Regions from separate parts of the Homo sapiens genome. Here region 1 is linked to region 2. Evidence: promoter capture Hi-C in human tissues and cell types (Jung and others, 2019). All regions are on one chromosome and are shown on one strand. The core of a region is centred on a gene start or on the middle of the fragment in contact, and the rest is flanking DNA. Distances in the headings are between cores, read along the strand shown.

Region 1 (6,482 bases), core at 566-3,065, 340 kb after region 2:
GTAATTCTTGACACATACAATACAAAAATAAAAATAAAGAATCCCACCCCTTTAACCTAAACTTCATGTACCTATATCTTGGAGGAGCCACAAAACAAAAACAAAAACAAAAAAACTTTCAAGTTCAGCATCATGAGCCAGCTGTGACCAGCCCCAGGGAGCTCTTGTTAGCTGGATAGGCTTGGCTCCAGGGGAGTCTACCCCAGCCCCCACCATACTTCTTCCTGTTTCCTCACTTCCCCTTTAGTTTTTGTTAGCCATAGAAAGATGTTCCTTCCTTTCGTTCACAACCAGAGAGGAAAGCGCCCATCCCTAACCCTGAGCTCAGGGGAAAAGGGTGGGCTTGGAAACAGAGGCAGAAGCAAAGCTGCTTGGCTTACAGTACCATTAGGAAATGGCCCCAGGAGTCAGGGTTTCCTTCTGAGACTCTGAGTCACTGAAGGGATGTGTTGAGGTGGAAGGCGGGACCCCCTCCTTCCTCAGACAGACCCAGGCAAACTAACAAACAAGGCAAAATGGAGGCAGCCAGTCCTCCTCCTTCATCTTGACTAACCCAATGGCAGTGGCCCAGGGCTTTGGGGAATTTCGATGGGATAGGAACCAAAGCTACTGCCAGAAGCCTGTTTAGTTAGGATGTCCACTGCCCCAGGCAGGTGGTCCCCAGGACCAAGGCTACAGTACCTTATCCTTTAGAAGCAGGGGAGCTGTGTGAAGCACTATGGGAAGTATACCTCTGACTGCAGCCTCGGGCCACAACCCTCCAGCTGCCTGACTCAATACCCTAGCACTGAGACCCAAGTCACAGCGAAAACAACAGGCTACAATTCTCAAACGACTAAATGCTGGCCTGGAGTAATCATTAAAGAGCCAAAACCCAGGACATGAGCCCAAGAGCTACCTATTTTGTCACATAAGGAGCAGTTCAAATATACAGAGCTCTTAAAAAACATATCTAATAAAGCAAACTCAAAATTAAACACATTCTAGAAAAGCGGGCCTGGCCTGAGATCCTATATTGACTGCTCCAGCCCAAGCTGAAGCTAATCCTGCTGTCTCCCATCCACAAAATTCCTTCTAGCTTGGCTGGGTCCTCCTTCATTGTTGCCCTAACTGGGAAATGGATGACAATGGCCAGAAAGGAGGGGACCAGGGAAGCTTCATTTCCTATAGAAATTTTTTCAGGGAATTCAAGATCGACACTTAGATGCTAAGGTTAGCTTCAGAGCTGCCAAGGCTCTGGCTGACTGGAATTCTTTCAGTCCCATCACACCAAGAACCTGACTGCTACTTGGATAGAGAAATGAAAGGACAGGGGAAGGAGGGGCATACTATTAAGATCAATAAGAAGCATCGCTGGGCCTATATAGCTAATTAGTCTAGTTCCTTGAAGTAGCTCTAGGCATAAACCAAAACTGGCTGAACTGTGACACACAAGAACATGGGAATAAATGAACATCAGATACCAGACACTCTAAACAGTGGTCAGTCACTTAGTAGGGCTCAAATCTCTGAGGTTGCTCTTAAGCTATGCTAACATAAGCCTTTTCTAATCCAAAGACCAGAAGAGACTTTTAAGGTCAAGTGTTCTGTTGCTGCAGGCTGGAAAGCATCCCTGCCCCCTGGCAGCAAGGCCCTACAAAGGGGCCAGTAAAGAACTGCTGGGTCAGGTCCTCCTGGCTGCTGGCTCAGAGATCCAGGGAGGGAGGTACCAACAAGGTGAGGTGGTAAAGGAGAAGACATTCAAGCAGAGAACCCCAAATCCCCGTGTCTCCTTCCCTTCTTGGCTATAACTTAGTGGGATGGTTGAGAGGGAGAAGAAATTTCAAATGAGCCAGATTAAGGAAACAAACAAACAAACAAAACTGAGAAGAAATCAAGTCCCCAACAGGCACTGAAATCAAAATGATTTGTTGTGGTAACAAGTCAGAGGCGATCTGAGGACCCGACATAACCGAAACGTCTTGGATGCTGGACAGTCTATAACTGGCACATGCCAGGGAGACAAGCAATGACAAAGCTCAAACACTAAAGGTGGGACCATCACTGGATTAATCCAGAAAGGCTTCCAGATAAGGAAGCATTTTCTTTCTTTTTTTTTAATCTCCCTACTTTTTTTTTTAAGTCTTTACCGCACAAATTCTACCCCTTCACACACATTCTTTCAATCCCAGGACGTCTGAAGTCTTATCTAGACATAACTTCAGACCGTACCTAACTCCCAGTGCTGGTCGTCTCAGGTAATAAGATGGCATTTCCCTGCTGTTAATTTCTAACCTAAAAAAAGGAACAGTGACTCCTCTGAGTTCAGAGTCCTTTCCACTAGGTATACAAATGAGGATCCTTGAGCAGGAAGGATCCAGTTTACCCTAAGTATCCTCAAGAGGAAAGAGAAGGCTGGGAGCCAGCCACAAAGAGAGGACGAGGACTGAAGCACGTCTGGGACCAGGTGGTGAATGAGGGCTGCTCTCTACTCGCTCTGCCTCTTTTTGTCTCCTTTAATTGATGTGTGTTTTTTTCTCTTTGTTTTTGTTCATTAATCATTGTGAAAAATACAGAAACCAAAACCAATATGGCTGGTTTCTTTCCCACACCCCTCCACCCTGTTCAGGATAGTCATTTGTTCTCACAACCGGCAGAGGCAGAAGAGGGTTGGAATGAAGACTCCGAAGGCCACCAGGATGGGAAACATGAGGCTGCTGTTGTCCGAGGCATAGGGGTTGGGTGTGCGGGGGCCTGACTGCACCCGGTTCTTATTGGTCTGTTTTTTGAGATTAGACCCTTCATCATATTCTTCTTCTTCTTCTTCCTCTTCTTTCTTCTCCAATCCCGGATGAGGCTGAAGCTTTGGTACATCTAACACAAGGAAGAAAACACTGTTAAGACCCACAGCATTTAAGTAAGAGAGACCCTTAAAAGCAGCAAATAAGCCACAATAAAGAGATTGCTGTGATTGAACCCGGGTCCAGAGAAAAGACCAGAAGTAGCAGAAATAGCCTCTGGTCTACAGAACAGCAGAGTGCTGCAAAAGCTTTAGATTTAACTAGAAAGTAGAAAAAGCCGTGCTCATAGGGAGGTTCACTATCTTACCTTCCTGTTCTACTTTTACAGAGCCCCAAGATAACCAGACTGGACAGGGACAATGATCCAATGCCTAAACTTTAGCCTTTTCAAATCCCTCCTCCTCCCACAAGCCCACATTCCCTTTTGATTCACACAACAACTGAAGAAACGTTGACCCAGAGAGTTCTGGGTTCCCAGCACACACTATCCCTCTGTCCTGCCTCCTCCTCAGGGACTTGAACACAGGTCTGTTTGGTGGTAAGACATTCATCCTCCTAGATGTCATAATATCAGCATTTGGGGGACATCAAGACAACAGGATGAAATCCTCAGTGCATTCAAGATTGAGTTGGGGAAAGGTACAGAGGTGGAATGGGGGAGAAATGTCACAAAGACGCAGCTTTCTCTGCAAAAATCAGCCTGAGATGCTGGCAGCCAGGAGAATCTAAACCCTGAGAAAGAAATATACTCTAAGACTTGATCCCAAGGATAAGGAGACATAAATAAGTGAAGTTTTGTCCCAGTGCAGTCCAGCAATGCTGGAATCTTTCAGAGCATACCAAAAGCCTACAGGACTCCTCCTTTTACCTTTTTTTCCCCTAGGAAAGAGATGTCAAACAAACAGAATAAGGACAAGTTTTAGGTGATCCCAAATGACTACAAAGGTCAGGGTACACCAATAGGTACCATTATTAATCCCAATTTATAGGGAAATTAAAAGCATCCATCCAAGACAAACATCTGATTAAATGGCAGCAACAAGATATACATAGACCTGACTCCAAAGCTTGTGGCTAGTACCATGTTATGCTTCATCCTTATCCAACTGATTCTGAATCCCCTACAATTTAGCTTTAAGTGTTTCCAAAATAGTCATCAGCTCAATTACCTCCCAAGGGCTTCCTCAACCATATCCCTCCACTCAAGTCAAAAAAGCAGGTCAGAACACAACCTACCATCCACTGTCCCAGCCATGATGTAGAGTGCACAGACCTTGGGATTGTCATAGTACCCCTAGGAAAAGGGAAACAGTGGTCAACCCCACACAGCAGCAAACAACTTCCCCTGTACCCACTCTCTTCAGCAATGGGCAGAATAGGGGAATTACCTTGACAAACTCAATGTAGAGTTTCCCTGTGAAGGTGGACACCTCCCCCTGGACACTCAGCTTCCCCTTTCTGATGCTCATAGGTATAATTTCATCGTGAGCTGTGCTATGCCCAACACGATCAAAGATATCCAAGTCCTTCACCACGACGTGGCCATTCAATCGTACATCAAATACCTTCCAGGATAAGAAAAGAAAACAATGTCAAAACCATCAGCTTTACATCCTTTCAAGCAGTTGGACATCATGCACGTGTTTGGGCTTGAAGTTCAAAAATAATTTAAGAAATGATGGGTCTGGATATCCAGGGTGGTTAGCATCCTTAACCCGGGTCAAATCAAAGCCGTGTTCCTTCACTGCCCAGGAGTTCTTATATTGGCTTTAAGGAACAAAGAATACAAACAAAAAGCTTAGCATAGGAAGAAGGAAATTCACAGGAAGGGACAGAGGAAAAATAAGGCTAAAAACAAGAAGGTGCGGCAAACCATGGAGGGAAGTAGCCAGGAGGGCCTTAACAGGATCAGTTAGTTGGCAAAACAAGGATTCTGGCATTGCTTTCTGTCACTCACCCCCAAGGCAAGTGCAGCCTTGTGCACTATGGAACATGCTTCTCTAGAGCTCATCTGTTCTGCCTTTCTGGAGAGACTCTCACACTCTCTAGCCCCATAATCGTGGATTGTCCAAGAGCAGCAATGTCCTACTGGTCAAGCAGCAGCCTGACTAGGCCTCACCTTTTGCTGGGACTGTGCAAAGTAGACCTCTGCAAATTTCAAGACCAGCACGTAGTCCCCCTCCTCTTTGATGGGCACTTCGTAGCCAAAGGTCTCCTCATTGTACCGCTCAGTTTGATACAGGATCTGGTCCTCAGGGTTGGAACGCAGGATTGGCAGTTTCATGCCATAGTCTGAGGCTGAGGACAAAAGACAAAGAGAAAGCACATCAGAGGCAAGACACAAAAGAAAAGCAAAGACCCCAGAACAGCCAGAGGCATTTCCAGGGCAATGCTAATAACCCTCTCCATAAAAGGGGCCACCCACTCTGCACCTGGCTCCAAACAGAGCTCCAACAAAGGCAGGAATCATACAGCCATTACTATGGAAGAGTAAAATGAAAGAAACTAAACACTAATCAGGCCAACAGCCCCTGTAAACCTCAGAGCGGAACTTTCTAAAAGCACATTAAAATGACTTTTTCCCCCTGACTGTACGGAGAACAAGTCTAACTCATTACCAGAAGAAAGTGCTGTGTTGCAGCTGCCTGGTTCCCCAAGAGGGAGGGCTTCAGAGAAACCTCCTAAAACAAGGGGGATGGCCAGGAACTCCATACAAGATGAAGTTCAAAGAATGTTTTCTCTCATTCAGAAAAGCCCAGAGTCTAAAACAAACAGGATATCTGCTTTGGAAAGTCATTCTTCATTGTCCTTACGAATAAAATTCCAGCTTTAGTTGTTGTGTGTTTTTTTTATAATTTTCATTCAAAAAGTTCCAAAGCTGTAAACAAAAACAGGCTCATAAAAGAAAGGTGTGATGCTAATTTCCTTCCTTCCCACAGACTCACAAAACTCCACCTCACCTACTTACTTGAACATTCACTCAGATAAACCAACAGCAGAAAAAAAAAGTCACCACTGCACCTCCAGTGCCTAGCACGGGACCTGGCACATAGTCGCCACTCATACAGTTTGCTGAATGAATAAATGACAATGAAGGAGGTGCCTGCAAAGCAGTGAAGCCATGCCACTCTGTCCACAAGGCTGGAGCATCCTGCAGGGCAAGGCAATCTGCCTAAGATGTCCAAGTCCTAGGGGAATCACCTTTCACATTTCACAAACTGACAAGGAATGAGAGAGGATAAAAGTAAAAAGTTACTTACCTCGGGTCAGTATCAGAAGAGCAGAAAACCTCTCTTGGCCCTGGCCCTCTCCCAACCTTGGTGTAAGACAGTTGTATATATGTTTTTTTCTTCCTCTCGCACAACACACTAAACTCCTGACCGCAGGTGATCCACCCGCATCGGCCTCCCAAAGTGCTAGGATTACAGGCGTGAGCCACCGCGCCAGGCCGAATCTTTTTTGTGCAAATATAAGATATCACATTTCAGTCTCAGAGGTAAATAGTTCTGCTTCCTCCAGAGAGTAGCCTGACTCCTTTATCCTATAAACACAGTAAGGCTTTCCAGTGCTCCATAAATATACTGTTCCAACTACAGATGTAGCCGTCATGTAGTCTCTCCTCCCGCATGAAATTAAGATTTCAAGACTGCCTTCCAATCTCACGTGGTGACCCTGAAGACATCTGGCAACTAGATCCTTTGG
Region 2 (6,156 bases), core at 1,361-3,860:
GCAATCTTGGCTCACTGCAAGCTTTGCCTCCTGGGTTCACGCCATTCTCCTGCCTCAGCGTCCCGAATAGCTGGGACTACAGGTGCCTGCCACCACGCCCGGCTAATTTTTTGTACTTTTAGTAGAGATGGGGTTTCACCGTATTAACCAGGATGGTCTCGATCTCCTGACCTTGTGATCCACCCGTCTTGGCCTCCCAAACTCTTCACCTTCTTATGTCTTTGCTCAGATGTCTCCTTTTCAGGGAGGCCTTCCCTAATCACCTTATGTAAGACTGAAACCTAAATACATGCCCCCAACACACACACACACACACACACACACACACACACACACACACACAACCTCTTAATCCCTTCTCTTGCTTTGTTTTTCTGCTTAGCACTTATCACCGTCTTCTTTACTATAATTTTACCTATTTATCCTATTTGTTGTTTGTCTCCACTACCAGAAAGAAAACTATCTGCAGGTAGGGATTTTTCACTACTGTTTGTTCACTGTTGTATCCACAGCACCTGCCTGGCACAGAGTAGGTGCCCAGTAAGTATCTGTTGAATGAGTGAACGAATGAGTGAATAGCACTCCAAGATTCAATCCTGCCCACCTGTCCAGGTACATTTCTAACCTCTCCCCTGCTCACCCTTTCATCCCAAGGCACACAGCACACTTGAGTCCCTGGCATATCCTAGCATTATTTATACTTCTCAGCCTCTATGCTGTACCCTCATCCTCCTGGCTGGAGTGCCAGTCTTTTTTATTTTTTATTTGGAGACAGAGTCTCATGCTGTCACCCAGGCTGGAGTGCAGTGGCACCATGATAGTTCACTGCAGCCTGAAACTCCTAGACTCAAGTGGTCCTCCCACCTCAGCCTCCCAAGTAGCTGGGGCTACAGGTGGACACCACCACACCTAGCTATTTTTTAAAAAACTTTTTGTTTTTAAAACAAAAACTGGAGTTTTAAACTCCAGGCCACCACTGCCTCTCACCTGCACCACTGTGCAGTGTCCTGACCATCTCCCTACATCTGTTCTTGCCCTTGCAATCATCCTCACCACAGAAGCAGAGAAGTTACAAGTGTGGCAAAGGGCAGACCGGAATTCAAAGCCAATGTGGAGTGGGGAGTTGGATACATGAGTCTGGATTTCAGGGAAGAGGTATGGATTTAAGATACAAATGTGGGAGTCACTGGGTATGGTGGCTCACGCCTGTAATCCCAGCACTTTGGGAGGCCGAGGAGGGCAGATCAGGAGTTCAAGACCAGCCTGGGCAACATGGTGAAACACTGTCCCTACTAAAAATACAAAAAGTTAGCCAGGCGCGGTGGCGGGCTCCTGTAATCCCAGCTCCTTGGGAGGCTGAGGCACAAGAATCGCCTGAACCTGGGAGGCAGAGGTTGCAGTGAGCCGAGATTGTGTCACTGAACTCCAGCCTGGGCGAGACAGTGAGACTCCATCTCAAAAATAAACAAATAAATAAAAATAAAATTAAAATGTGGAAGTTGCCAGAGTAAAAACATTTAAACGCTGGCTGAAATCACCAAGGGAGTAAGTCTAGAACAAGAAGAGAAAAGGACCCAGGACTAAGCCCTGGAGCACTTAATATTATTCAGAGTTTGGGAAGTTGCAGGTGTCCAGCTATGTTGCCCAGGCTGGTCTTGAACTCCTGGCCTCAAGTGATCCTCTCACCTTGGCCTCCCAAAGTGCTGGGACTACAAGCATGAGCCACCATGCCCAGCCCGGATCCCCAGTCTTTAAGATTCCTCTCAAGCAGGTGTCTGCTAACACCAAATGAAACTCATCTGCCGGCTTCATGTTTTCATGCTTTTTTCCTACTTAACTCATCGCACTGGACTTTTGCAGTCTCTTTTTTCTGTGTCTCCTCCACCGTTCTGGGAGTCCCCTTGGAACAGGAACCTCATCTTATTTTGTCTTCTTGGCTCAATGCATGAACTTCTTGGTTCAGTGCGTGAATCATAATACCTGTTAAACCCACTCTATGGGCCGGGCGCGGTGGCTCACGCTGTAATCCTAGCACTGTGGGAGGCCGAGGTGGGCGGATCATTTGAGGTCAGGAGTTTGAGACCAGCCTGACCAAAATGGTGAGACCCCCGTCTCTACTAAAAATACAAAAAAAAAATTAGCCGGGCGTGGTGGCACATGTCTGTAGTCCCAGCTACTAGGGAGGCTGAGGCAGGAGAATCGCTTGAACCCGTGAGGCAGAGGTTGTAGTGAGCTGAGATTGCACCACTGCACTCCAGCCTGGGCAACAGAGCAAGACCCGGCCAAAAAAAAAAAAAAACAAAAAAACAAAAAAACCCACTCTATGAATAGTGAGGGTCAAAGAGGTTAGAGTCTGGCACAGGTAGACTAGAATTCCCAGTCTGTTCTCTTGGGCTCCAGATTCTCACTCCACCACCTGAACACTAGTGAGTCCCTTCCGTTCCCAAGCCTCAATTTCCTTAGACAGATGTAAGCAGTTGAATTGACTAACAACTATCCAACCCCAACCTACTGGGCAAGTTGCCTCCTTTGGGGTCAAACACTATCCAACTTCAGTTTCCCAACGTCATAAAGGAGAACTCTAAAAGTTGAGAATCGAAACTGATGACAGATTGACTAGACGGCCAGCCTGTTAAGGTGGCCCCAGATATTCCAGCCTCAGCCCAGAGTCCTCCTGTGCCCCTACTGCAGCAAGGGTGTCTCCAAGAAGGGGGACCTGGAGTCAGCCCGTCACACCTGGTTTCCTCTCTGCTAGGGTCCCTCCTCCCACAGAGCACTGGAGGGCAGCTGAGGAGGAGCTACCTTAAAAAAGGAGGTGTGTGCCAGGGAGCTGGGTAGGAGCCTGGCTATATATCTGCCCAGCAGCGGTACTCTCGGGACAGAGATGGCACTGATGCAGGAACTGTATAGCACACCAGCCTCCAGGCTGGACTCCTTCGTGGCTCAGTGGCTGCAGCCCCACCGGGAGTGGAAGGAAGAGGTGCTAGACGCTGTGCGGACCGTGGAGGAGTTTCTGAGGCAGGAGCATTTCCAGGGGAAGCGTGGGCTGGACCAGGATGTGCGGGTGCTGAAGGTAGTCAAGGTAAGACTGGGCTCCTCCAGCCCCCACGCAAGACAAAACCCAGTATCAGAGTCCACGTCCCTGGGGATGCTGGGGACCCCTGTCCTCCTTATCCCTAGCCCATGCTGATGACATCTCAGAATACCCCATCCCACCTAGCTGTCTACACCCCACTGCACCACTGCCTTGAGTAGAATGAGTCTAGTAATAATAGCTCACATTTGGGGGCTCACTGGACTAACCTCTTAACATACACTATCTCTAATTCTTGCACTCTGTGAGATAGGTACTATTCTTTGCCCAGTTTACAGATTAGCAAATGGAGGCTCAGAACCAATACAATGCGAGGTCCTTGGTTGGATCCTAGTGTGAATGAACCATCTGTAAAATATAGTTTGGGGACAACTGGCCTAGATATCAGATAGTACATATATCTGATATGGGAAATCATTGTTGATTTTGTTAGGTGTAACAGTAGTTTTGTGGTTATCAGAAGGTTGTCTTTTGTTTGGACACGAACACTGAAGTATTTTAGGGACAAAGTTCCTTGGTGCCTATAATTTACTTTAACGTGGCTTAGATTAAGCACATGTAGCCAGGAATTTAGACTTGTTGAATCAACTAGTTGGGTATATGAGTGTTAGTTGTATCATCTATTTTTCTATGTGTTTTAACTTTTTGATAATAAAATGACTTTTTTTTTTTTTAGAGACAGGGTCTCGCTCTGTCACCCAGGCTGGAGTGCAGTGGCACAATCACCACTCACTGTAGCCTCAATCTCCCTGAGCTCAGGTGATCCTCAGCCTCCTAAATAGCTTGGGATTACAGGCATGCACCACCATGCTCAGCTAATTTTTGTATTTTTTGTAGAGATAGGGTTTCACCAATGTTGCCCATGCTGGTCTCGAACTCCTGGGATCAAGAATATGCCCACCTTGGCCTCCCAAAGTGCTGGGATTACAGGTGTGAGCCACCATGTCTGGCCGGCCAATAAAATGATTTTTGTTTTTGTTTTTTTTTTTTTGAGACAGAGTCTTGCTCTGTCACCAGGCTGGAGTGCAGTGGCACGATCTCAGCTCACTGCAACCTCTGCCTCCCAGGTTCAAGCAATTCCCCTGCCTCAGCCTCCCAAGTAGCTGGGACGACAGCGCCCACCACCACGCCCGGCTAATTTTTTGTATTTTAGTAGAGACAGGGTTTCACCGTGTTGGCTAGGATGGTCTCGATCTCCTGACCTCATGATCTGCCCTCCTCGGCCTCCCAAAGTGCTGGGATTACAGTGAGCCACTGCACTCGGCCTAAAATGATTTTTTAATGGAGGCTCAGAGAGGTGAGGTGACTTGCCCAAGGTCACACAGTGTTGAAGCTGGGATTTGAACTTGACTCAAGGGACCCAAGCCCCCCTCACTGAGATTTTCCCCCAAGCCCTTCCTCCAGCTGTTTCATGCCACCGCCTGTGCTAGCTAAGATCAAAATTCAAGAGGGTCGGAGCTAGAAAGACTTTGGAGAATCAGACAGTCTCACCAATGACTCACTTAAAAAATTAAGTAAACCGAGGCACAGAGAGGGTGAGAGATACCCCAAGGTCACACAGCGAGTTGGTGGCAAAGGCAAGACTAGAATTAGGACCCCTGACTCCCAGCCCAGTGCTCAAGTTCTCTCTCTAGGGGCAACCAACTCACAGAGGGATCTAGAAGCCCTGGGCCCCTATCCGTTCTTTGCACCTATCCCCAGCATATGAAGCCTGAGGCCATACAATTTATAAGTGAGAAACCACAAATTTTGATATTAGACAGACTCTTCGCTTCTTCCTTTACCAGCTGTGTGGTTTTGACCTTCCCACTCTTCTTTCTCAAACCCACATTCTTTTCATCTGTGATTGGGGCATCATCATCATCTCTCCCTCACCAAGCCAGTGGTGCAATGCAGGCTGAATGATTCATGCACGATAAATGCTCAGAAACAGAAGCATCATTATAATTCTTGCCAAGCTTTCTTCTGGGCCTGGGACTCAAGTCTGACTCTGGCAGACCCTCCTAGACCACCCCCTCCCCAACAAACTTGAGAATAAAGTGGAGGGAATAAGGAATGTCTGGTAAGAGGAGGATGCTACAAGAATAAGTTTATTGTGTGTGTGTGTGTTCCACCACGCCTGGCTAATCTTTGCATTTTTAGTAGAGACGGGGTTCCATCATGTTGGCCAGGCTGGTCTCGAACTCCTGACCTCAAGTGATCCACCCACCTCGGCCTCCCCAAATGCTGGGATTACAGGTGTGAACCACCACGCCCGGCCAAGAATGAGTTTTTACGGCAGGAAATGCTATTTACCTAAGCCTCAAATACTTCCTGCACATCATAGCCACTTTTCCTCTTGAAACCACTAAATGGTAGCAATCCCCAGTGAGCCATGACTAATGAGGAATAATATATCTTATTTAGAGTCTAAACCCTCCCGTTCCCCACCCTCTGAAAATCTAGTGAGCGGAGCTGGTCCACATAAGGGAATGCTCGTCTTCAAATGAATTGTGCTTAAATAGGTTTAAAACTGAAGCAAATCAGGAAGCCTGTTCTGGATGTGTTCTTTTCTCTCTGCCTGGATCTTACCAGTGGGAAAGGCAGAAAGGGAAGTCTACGCCAGGCACAGTGGCTCACGCCTGTAATCCCAGCACTTTGGGAGGCCAAGGTGGGAGGATTGCTTGAGCCCAGGAATTCGAGACCAGCCTGGGCAAAATGGTGAGACCCCCGACTCTACAAAAATATATATAAAAAATTAGCTGGGCATGGCGGTGCATGCCTGTAGTTCCAGCTACTCCGGAGGCTGAGGTGGGAGGATTGCTTAAGCCCAGGAGGTCGAGGCTTCAGTGAGTGAAGATCGTGCCATTGCACTCCAGCCTGGGCAACAGAGCAAGACCCTGTCTCAAAAAGAAAGGGAAGTCTAGACTGGCCTTCGGGGGGAATGTGTCCTTCATTCACACACAGGGTGCCATCTCCAACCCTCTCCCAGGGGGTGGAGGTGCTGGGTCTGAATGCCCATGGTCCCTTGGAAGCAGGGCCTGGCTCACAGCCTTGGGTCACGAGGAAGAAAGAGGCGGAAG

Evidence for each region. Contacts are between HindIII fragments. The study calls those that stand out against the background at their distance.
Region 1: a fragment that was not itself captured here is called in contact with the fragment with the promoter of OASL in region 2 in 1 of the 25 tissues and cell types used here (IMR-90 fibroblasts).

The regions. Positions count from the first base shown.
Region 1 is chr12:120,692,687-120,699,168 of GRCh38, reverse strand. It overlaps MLEC (malectin), which reads right to left. Exons shown (of 5, transcript NM_014730.4): 2 at 4,900-5,078; 3 at 4,169-4,345; 4 at 4,017-4,074; 5 at 1-2,853. The coding sequence ends at 2,624. Among named protein-coding and RNA genes, the nearest start is that of MLEC, 8.8 kb to the right of the region's middle. The HindIII fragment of the contact is 3,246 bases long and covers 193-3,438 here.
Region 2 is chr12:121,035,700-121,041,855 of GRCh38, reverse strand. It overlaps OASL (2'-5'-oligoadenylate synthetase like), which reads left to right and starts at 2,610. Exons shown (of 6, transcript NM_003733.4): 1 at 2,610-3,082. The coding sequence starts at 2,885. RefSeq lists enhancers at 2,446-2,865, 2,445-2,944, 2,945-3,446. The HindIII fragment of the contact is 11,669 bases long and covers 2,538-6,156 here.